Linked DNA regions of Homo sapiens: regions 1 and 3 are each linked to region 2. The links are contacts of gene promoters, found by promoter capture Hi-C in human tissues and cell types (Jung and others, 2019). All regions are on one chromosome and are shown on one strand. The core of a region is centred on a gene start or on the middle of the fragment in contact, and the rest is flanking DNA. Distances in the headings are between cores, read along the strand shown. Region 1 overlaps NET1 (neuroepithelial cell transforming 1). Region 2 holds the start of CALML5 (calmodulin like 5). Region 3 overlaps LOC105376381 (a long non-coding RNA gene).

Region 1 (2,766 bases), core at 182-2,681, 70 kb after region 2:
CTCTGTCTCAAAAAAAAAAAAAAGAGATATAGTTAATCATAATGTATGTGTCTTATTTGGACTACAAACAGGCAAAATGAACCCCAAACCAAAAAAAACCTAAACAAACAAAAAACCCCACAAAAACACACAAACAAGATCAAGAAAATGCATGAATTCTGAACTGAATCTGATATTAAGGAATTATTTGTACTGTTTTGTAGAAAGTGTATTTTATTATGTTTTTAAAAAGTTCTTATCTAAGGTCCGGCATGGTGACTCACACCTGTAATCCCAGCACTTTGTGGGGCCGAGTCTGGAATTCAAGACCAGCCTGGACAACATGGCAAAACCCTGTCTCTACTAAAAATACAAAAATTAGCCGGGCATGGTGGCACACACCTGTAATCTCAGCTACTCAGGAGGCTGAGGCAAGAGAATCTCTTGAACCCAGGAGGCGGAGGTTGCAGGGGGCCGAGATCGCACCACTGCACTCCAGCCTGGGAGACAGAGCGAGACTCCGCCTCAAAAAAAAAAAAAAAAGTTTTTATCTAAGACAATAAAGATAGTAAATGGAATATTTACAGATGAAAGGACATGACATCTAGGATTTACTTCAAAATAATTCATATATTGATAACTGCTAAAGCTTAGTTGAAGACCACGTATTTTACTGTGGCAAACTACAAATACTATTTCTGTATTTGATTTGATTTGAAACATACCTAAAAATAATCAAGGTTGTCATTTCATACTTTTTTCTTTTTTTGAATACAAGATATTTTAAATGCAACTAAAACTGTTTTGCAAAATGCTTACAACTTAAAACACATAATTCTTCTATGAAGACACTGTGTACTAAAAATAAGAAAAAAATTGACTTGCTGGATTTGTTAAAATGTTGATGAGCAGATTATAAAAATTTAATTTTTAGAAAATATCTTGTCTTTAAAAAGAAACAGCAGCTGCTGCTGTTAAACATAATATGAAACATTTTTAAAAATCACATTTAAAAATGTACAACTCTTTTATAACCTTAAAAAAAGACTCTCCAAAACCAAGATGCTACAGTAAAATTTACTAACTGGCAAAAATGATGTTAGTAATTCCAAAGATACTAGGTTTTTGGACTTAAGTACAATTTCATATAAGAAAACTTCAAGTATTTTAAAGTGTGTGCTGAGTGTTAGTTTATTCTATGTCACATACTTGAAGCCTTGAAGCCCATGGGCCACATATGACTTACAGATAAGTTATTTTGCTTGCATGTATTTTTTAAGAAAAACTGACTCAACATTTAAAATTCAGGAGATTTCACATAAAAATCCAGGTTTTGACAGTCCTACATGTGACAGTGGGCTAGAACCTGGGGCTCTCCTTTTCACCACCGGCCCTCTCTTACCTCGTTCCTTCGCACAGATTACAGCCTGTCTCCTTAGCATTTGTGTTTGTGATCAGTAGTTATAGCCTAACATTTTGAGAGTGGTTTCTCCCTCATTCTTAACAAAGAAGTAGAATAGCAAAAAAGACGGTGTCTATGAACTAATATTATTCACTTTTGCACTTACAAAATGCAAAAAACAAAAAAACAAAAAAACCCAAACCAGCATTTGTTATTCTTGCAGCACAGAAATAAAATGCTATCTGCATATTTTTAAATGCTTTTCTTTAACAGGGCAGCAGGGCTTACCTTCAGATCAAGGCTGCTAAGGCTTACAACATCATCATCTTTCTCTCTGCGTTTTCTTTTCTAAAAGAAAAATAGAGATTTCATTCTCATATAAAAGGAATGCATATTACCTCACAAAACAAAGACTCTATAAAACTAGAAAAATCAATTTAAAAAAGTTAAGCCTTTGGCTATAGTCACAAGAAAATTACTTTGAGGCCAGGCGCGGTGGCTCACGTCTGTAATTTCAGCACTTTAGGAGGCTGAGGAGGGCGGATCGTCTGAGGTCAGGAGTTCGAGACCAGCCTGGCCAACGTGGCGAAACCCTGTCTCTACTAAAAATCCAAAAAAAAAAAAAAAATTAGCTGCGCGTGGTGACACACACCTGTAGTCCCAGCTACTCAAGAGGCTGAGGCAGGAGAATCGTTTGAACCTGGGAGGCAGAGGCTGCAGTGAGCCGAGATTGCGCCACTGCACTCCAGCCTGGGTGACAGAGCAAGATTTCCTCTCAAAAAAAAAAAAAAACAAAGAAAATTATCTTGAGGAGAGACGCTCATGAATTGTCTTTGGAATAGATACTATCTGAACAGTCTCCCCTGACTAAGTCATCACTGCTGTGAAGTGGCTACCCTATTAAAATACTACTTAAGTTTTTCAGAACAGAACTCTTATGTAAATCAAGGGCTGTCTGTACTTGTTAGAGAAAAAGTAAAAATTTTTTAAATATAAAATCAGCTAGTTTTTTTTTTTTGAAAAGGAACACATTATTTATCTTGGGGGCAAGGTCTTCACTAGAAAAAAAAAATCCTTTTCTCATGGCCCAAAGTAATTAAGATTTGTTGCCTGAGGCAGGATTGATTAACTAGAAGGTGAACAGCCATGTCCCTGGAGTACTTTCCACTTACCATTTATCACTTTCATTCAGCCCTTCTGGCACCAGTAGTGGCAAAACTGTGTACATATCTACCATTTCTGGTACTTAATTAATAGTGAATAAGCACCCACGGGTAACACTTCATTTTCCCACATCTCAAAATAACTTTTCAGGTTACCTACACAGCTTACTTCTTGGTAACTCTTAAAAAGTGACTAGTTAGGGTTCCCGTCAACTTCCTGGC
Region 2 (2,896 bases), core at 39-2,538:
GAACAGGAGGGAGGTGGAATGTATAAACTTTCCCAGGGGAATAAAGGAGTTTGTTCCCTGTGTACGGGCAGGGGCTGGGGAGAAGAATGGGAATCTATGGAGATCAGAGGGGACTTGCTTGGGAAAGGCATTTTGGGGACTCCAAGGCAAATGTCCCCTCACAACTGTAGATCACATCAGTGGAAGGACTTGGGGATGGTCCCCCGAAAGCTTAGCTGTTGCTCTAAAAGTTGGTCAAGGCAAGTGGCCCTGGGGGTTTCCTTCCAGAGAACAGATCAGATTGAGGACCCCAGTAGGCTCCCAGATGGGTCTCTGTGCTTAGGGCTGATGCTTAGTAAAACCACAAGGAGGGCCAAGTTTGATGGCAGCCACCTGTTCTGCATCCTCCTGCACCTCTGCCTGCACCTTTGGGGTATGCTGGGCACTGAGGTCCCCCGTGTCTCGCTGCAGCAAAACTCCAGCTGTAACTGTTTGACGCCCTGTGAATGGAACGCCTGCCACTGAGCTCCCAGGGTGTCTGCACAGGGAACCTTGGACTTGGCGATGGAATTGAATTGTAGGAATCCCTGAGCTAGAAGGGAGTATTCTGGGGAGACAAAAAGTCTTTCCCTCTCCTCTGAAACTGCACGTCACATGTTCACTTGATAAACACCATCTCAGCACCAGCTATGGCTCTGAAGGCAGCCCTGGTCCCTTGCTTCCTTGAAGTTATAGGCAGTGAGCCCCATCCTCTGTCTCTAGACCCTGGCCTGGGAATCTCATGATACCCACAGTTGTGCCCTGGCAGAATCAACACTACCACCCACTTCCCTTCCACCAGCCCCAGCCTCAGGGCAAGAGCTAGGCAGTAGCACTGGAGAGAGGGGTACGGAAACACCAAACACTGGGGCCTGCTGTGCCCTTGAGGGAGCCCTCTTCAAGCCACCTCCCCCTCCAGTCTCAGTCTTTGTGAAGTTGCAGAAGCTGTCTTGAACCCCTTGGCTTGGTCAGGATCTCCGAGAATCAGCTGCAGGGGAAACTATCCCTTGGGCAGAATGTTCCTGGAGGGAGGTGGTTGCTATCAAGGCCAGGCGGGGTTGGCAGGCTAGCCATCCGATACCCCGACCCCATGGCAGTTCCCACCTGGCACCTGACAGCTCTCCCAACTCCCATTCCTGCATTTCCTGTCTGCAGCTGATCTGGCCCTCCCTGGGAGGAGGCTCTCACCCCAGGGCATTTGGAGGGTGGGGAGCCTCCCTCCTCCCTTTGTTCCGATTGCAGAAAAGGAGGGGGTTCCCATGCCAAGGCAGAACTGTCTGGGACAGACGCTGCCCGGATCCCTGCGGCTGCCTGCACTCTGGACCACGAGCTCTGAGAGCAGCAGGTTGAGGGCCGGTGGGCAGCAGCTCGGAGGCTCCGCGAGGTGCAGGAGACGCAGGCATGGCCGGTGAGCTGACTCCTGAGGAGGAGGCCCAGTACAAAAAGGCTTTCTCCGCGGTTGACACGGATGGAAACGGCACCATCAATGCCCAGGAGCTGGGCGCGGCGCTGAAGGCCACGGGCAAGAACCTCTCGGAGGCCCAGCTAAGGAAACTCATCTCCGAGGTTGACAGCGACGGCGACGGCGAAATCAGCTTCCAGGAGTTCCTGACGGCGGCGAAGAAGGCCAGGGCCGGCCTGGAGGACCTGCAGGTCGCCTTCCGCGCCTTCGACCAGGATGGCGACGGCCACATCACCGTGGACGAGCTCAGGCGGGCCATGGCGGGGCTGGGGCAGCCGCTGCCGCAGGAGGAGCTGGACGCCATGATCCGCGAGGCCGACGTGGACCAGGACGGGCGGGTGAACTACGAGGAGTTCGCGAGGATGCTCGCCCAGGAGTGAGGCTCCCCGCCTGTGTCCCCCTGGCTGCGCTCTGAGCCTTCAGGGCCACCGCCCGCTGCTGCTTTTGTGCTGGGACTCTCCGGGGAAACCTGGTCGGTGGATGGGAAACTGCCTCCCCCTGGGAGGAAGGCTTTGCGCTCCGGGGCCTGGATGCGGCGCCCTCGGGCCGCCTGCGAGCCCCTCTCTGCCTCCAGACCTTGGGCAGAAGGAGGCCTCCTTGGGCCTGGTCCCCCTTTGCCCTGCAGTGGAATGAGGGCCCCTCAGCCCCGCATTGATCTAAATAAAGGACTGCCGAGTTCCATGTGTGCTTGGTGTTTGTGGGGCGGCTGCCTCCGAGGGCCCCCACCTGCTTCCAGGGTTCCTTCCAGCCCACCCCTCTCACCTGCGGTGGCAGAACTGCCTGGAGCAGGCCCCAGGGGCAGCTCCTGCCTCCCCTGACGCGGAGCAGAGGGCAGGTGGGCAGAGGATGTGTGAGGATGGTGCTGGGCGGTGTCTGTGGCTCCAGGTTCTGCCTGAGCTGCTGGTGAGGACCTGGGCACGTGTCCCGCACAAACAGGAGCGGGCGCCTCGCATGGACAGACGGAGCCCAGCTGCCAGCCTCTGCACGCAGCCTGCCTCTCTTCGGCTGCAAATAATATACGTGTACGTCTGTGTGTGCATCTGTGTGTGTGTCTGTGTGTCTGTATGCGTGTCTCTGTATGTGTGCATCTGTGTGTAAGTCTCTGTATGTTTGTGTGTCTGTGTGTCCTTGTGTGCATCTGCATGTGTATGTGTGTATCTGTGTGTGTGTCTGAGTGTGTCTCTGTGTCTATGTGTCTGTGTGTGTCCATTTGTGTGTGTGTCTTATCTGTGTGTCTGTGTCTGTGTGTGGCTTTGTGTGTGTATCTGTGTGTGTGTGTCTCTGTGTCTATGTGTCTGTGTGTGTTTATCTGTGTGTGTCTGTGTCTGTGTGTGTGTCTGTGTATGTGTTTGTGTGTGTCTGTGTGCCTATCTGTGTGTGTGTGTCTCTGTGTCTATGTGTCTGTGTGTGTTTATC
Region 3 (3,016 bases), core at 32-2,531, 66 kb before region 2:
GAGAAGGTGGGGGGCACGCCTGGGTTAGGGTCCTTGACAGTTTTGTCCAGATTGGGTTTGAGTGTGGGGTGTCCTCATGGGACTCTGGTGAGTTGGGGGTGGGAAAGGCGGTTGACTCCTTGGGGGCTGGTCACCACTCAACAGCTGTTCTCCAGTGGCACTTTATGAAGCAATGTTAGCAATGGGAGCTCCCCTGCCAAGATGTGGGTGGTCGGTACCCAGTGGCTTTCAAAGCCAGCAACCCAGGGATCTCACAGAAGTCCATCAGCCTGAAGGCAGGCACGTGGGAGATGACTAAAACCAGGTGATGTAGGCAAGAGGTACCCTCAGAACGCCCTCGAGTTGCCCCATTGTTCTTTTCTGTGCTGCCTGTGTGTGCAGCCGCTGAGCTCCTTGTGTTTTCGGGAGGTGGAGTATGCACCCCTGTGGGCTCATCCATCCTCGCCCTCATCATCCTCCCTGGCACCGTGCAGACTCTGAGCTTCTGCCCGCCCCACCCAGGTGTCTCATCCCACCTGCCTCGGGGAGCCTGGCTGAACAGCAGGCACCACCCTGAGCCACCCCTTCCCAGCCAGAGCAGCTCCGGTCGGAGGCTTCCTCCCAACAGGCGGGCTTCTTAAGCCTCCTTAATCTGCACGGAGGAAATTCAGAAATCCAGTCATCCTGAAACCATCTTCCTTCGGGGCAGGACAGAACCCGTGTGTGTGGGTAGATGAGTGTGGATGGTGGGGGTGGGAGGCACATTTGTCATCGTGCTCAGCCCAGAACTTCCCAGATGTTCAGGCCAATCAGGGTGAACCCTTGAACTTCCCTGGGCCTCTGATGCCCGGCTAGTGCCTCAAAAAGCCTCATCCGCGGGTGCTTAAAAAAAAAGACTTGAGGCTTCTTTACAGACACAGCTCATTCTAGAAATCTTCCAGCCCCAACATCACCAAAGGCGAAGAGAAGAAGGAAACTCACTATTCTAGCAGTCCCTGGGCCAAGAGCCTGTTAAGCCATTTTACGAGCCGTCCCCTAAAACATGACAATTCTGCCAGGCAGGTGTGGCAGAAGCGGGGCTATGTCTTTCCCAGAACACTGCAGCTTCAGCATGTCCTGCTTGCAGCCGGGGCCCCTGGGAGTGATGCTGGAGGACACCACCTCCAGGCTGCCCCAGAAACCTCCTGCCCAATACTCACACCGTCTCTCTTCATCTGTTGACCACTTTAGGGCAGGAGATCCAGCGGGGGACTATGGAGCTCAGTGGAGCTGCGGCCTGGGAGAAGCCCACCCAAGAGAACCATGTAACTAGAAACCATCACATTCGGCTTCGTGTGAGGGAGAAGCAGGTGTTTCATTGCACGCAGTTACTGAGATCTGGGGTTGTTTGTTATTGCAGCAAGGACCCACCCTAACACACGAGGTGTTATATGCATTTTACAGATTGCCAAGATGGTACAGACAGCAGAAGTGGCAAAACAACACTTAAACTCAAACCTGCCCAACTTCAAAGTCCACGCCCTTCCCTGGGCTTCAGACTGCCGTCTTTGATGCTATCTTTCATTGAGATGTTGTTTGCATTAAATGGGGGATCTTGCGGCACACGGTGGACCTTGCCCAGCACCCACTCTTCCTAGGGCCAGCCTTACTCTGTGGGGTCAGCCTTTGACCGTCTGGGCCATGAAGGTGGCTGATGAGGCCCCTTCGACAGCCAAGTTGGGGCACAATCTCCTCCGGATGTTGTTATTCCTTCACAGTCTCATCGCAGGCGGGGAGGAAGTCAGAGGGCTGATTTAGAGGACAGAGATACAAACAGAGTGAGCAGAGGATGTTTGGCTGCAGTTGCTCCAGAGTTTCAAGGGAGAAAACACAAGCATTGCTGAGCGGCCATTAGGGGCTTGCACGCTCAGCTGGGCACATGTCCACACCGAGGCATCACGTGCGGTCTGAGCTGAGCTCTCATCTCTGGGTTTCAGGACTTTCAGCACAGTCCTGGCCCTTCACGTTTAGTCTGGGTGATCAGGGATGTAAACCAGCAATTGCAAGGTGGTGAAGCACCACCGTGGAAGGGCACCAGCCGGGCCCTGGGGTCACAGAAGTGCCCCAGGAAGTGTGGCCGTTAAGCCTGGTGAGAGGAGAGCGAGCCGGGAGGACGGTGAGAGACAGGCATGACGGGGCGGTGAGTGTGACTGCTGCTGAGCATGTCTGAGACGGCAGGCAGTCACCAAAGGCTTGTAAGCAGAGGCAACACCCTGACTTGTGGTTTGGAGAGATCATGGTGACTGCCGTGCAGGGACGGAATGGAGGCTGCTCCAGTGACTCTGGCCGTGGGCAGTGGTGGGCGGGTGAGGGGACAGAGGAAAGTGGATGGAGTTGCTGCCCCCACAACCCTGCTGAGAAAGTGCCCACGGGACCTGGCGGGGTGTGAGTCACACTTGGGCTGCTCTGCCTGGCTCTGCACCTATTTCGTGAGCTGGAAGGGACAGCCTGAGCCCCGTCCCTTGGATGGACATCAATGCAGGAGTAAGGGTCTGTCTCTGAAGCTCTCTGAGCAACGGAAGGGAAGGTGCCCACTGGGCTCAATGCAGAGATATTGGGGCTGATGTGGCAGGAGGGGTGGGTGTGCAGGCCCGGCGGGGAAGGAGACTTCCAAACAGACGGGCTGCCCCACGGGGAATCTGGCTGGGGCCAGTCATTCTCAGAGTCAAACCATCTTCATTCAACTCCGAGGCTGCCCCAGGCCAGTAGCGTCCTTCCTGAGAGCGCTTCCTGCGAGATTTATGAGGCAGGGGCCAGGCCTGGATCGTAGAAAGCTAGAGAATGCCTTGGCTGCCCAGGGAAGTCTGGAATTTCTTCCAAACCAAGCTTCCAGACGTCCCTCTGGACTCCTCTGTCTGAGAATGGGCACTTTAAAGGCCCAGGAGAGAACTCCCATGACACCGTTTTCCAACCTCCCATCTCCCCTCCCCGGCAGCTCCCCATTTCCGGCATCTCGGCTTGGCAGGACCCCTCCAGGACCTCACTCCTCTGAGACGCA

The links. Contacts are between HindIII fragments. The study calls those that stand out against the background at their distance.
Region 1: a contact is called between a fragment that was not itself captured here and the fragment with the promoter of CALML5 in region 2, in 3 of the 25 tissues and cell types used here (adrenal gland, bladder and mesendoderm cells).
Region 3: a contact is called between a fragment that was not itself captured here and the fragment with the promoter of CALML5 in region 2, in 5 of the 25 tissues and cell types used here (H1 embryonic stem cells, adrenal gland, heart right ventricle and 2 more).

What each region holds. Positions count from the first base shown.
Region 1 is chr10:5,428,133-5,430,898 of GRCh38, reverse strand. It overlaps NET1 (neuroepithelial cell transforming 1), which reads right to left. Exons shown (of 12, transcript NM_001047160.3): 3 at 1,670-1,729. Among named protein-coding and RNA genes, the nearest start is that of NET1, 17 kb to the right of the region's middle. The HindIII fragment of the contact is 8,393 bases long and covers 1-2,766 here.
Region 2 is chr10:5,497,962-5,500,857 of GRCh38, reverse strand. It overlaps CALML5 (calmodulin like 5), which reads left to right and starts at 1,288. Exons shown (of 1, transcript NM_017422.5): 1 at 1,288-2,161. The coding sequence starts at 1,420. The coding sequence ends at 1,860. The HindIII fragment of the contact is 7,245 bases long and covers 1-2,896 here.
Region 3 is chr10:5,563,499-5,566,514 of GRCh38, reverse strand. LOC105376381 (a long non-coding RNA gene) reads left to right here. Exons shown (of 2, transcript XR_001747274.2): 2 at 1,210-3,016. Among named protein-coding and RNA genes, the nearest start is that of LASTR, 31 kb to the left of the region's middle. RefSeq lists a silencer at 2,345-2,571. The HindIII fragment of the contact is 4,548 bases long and covers 1-3,016 here.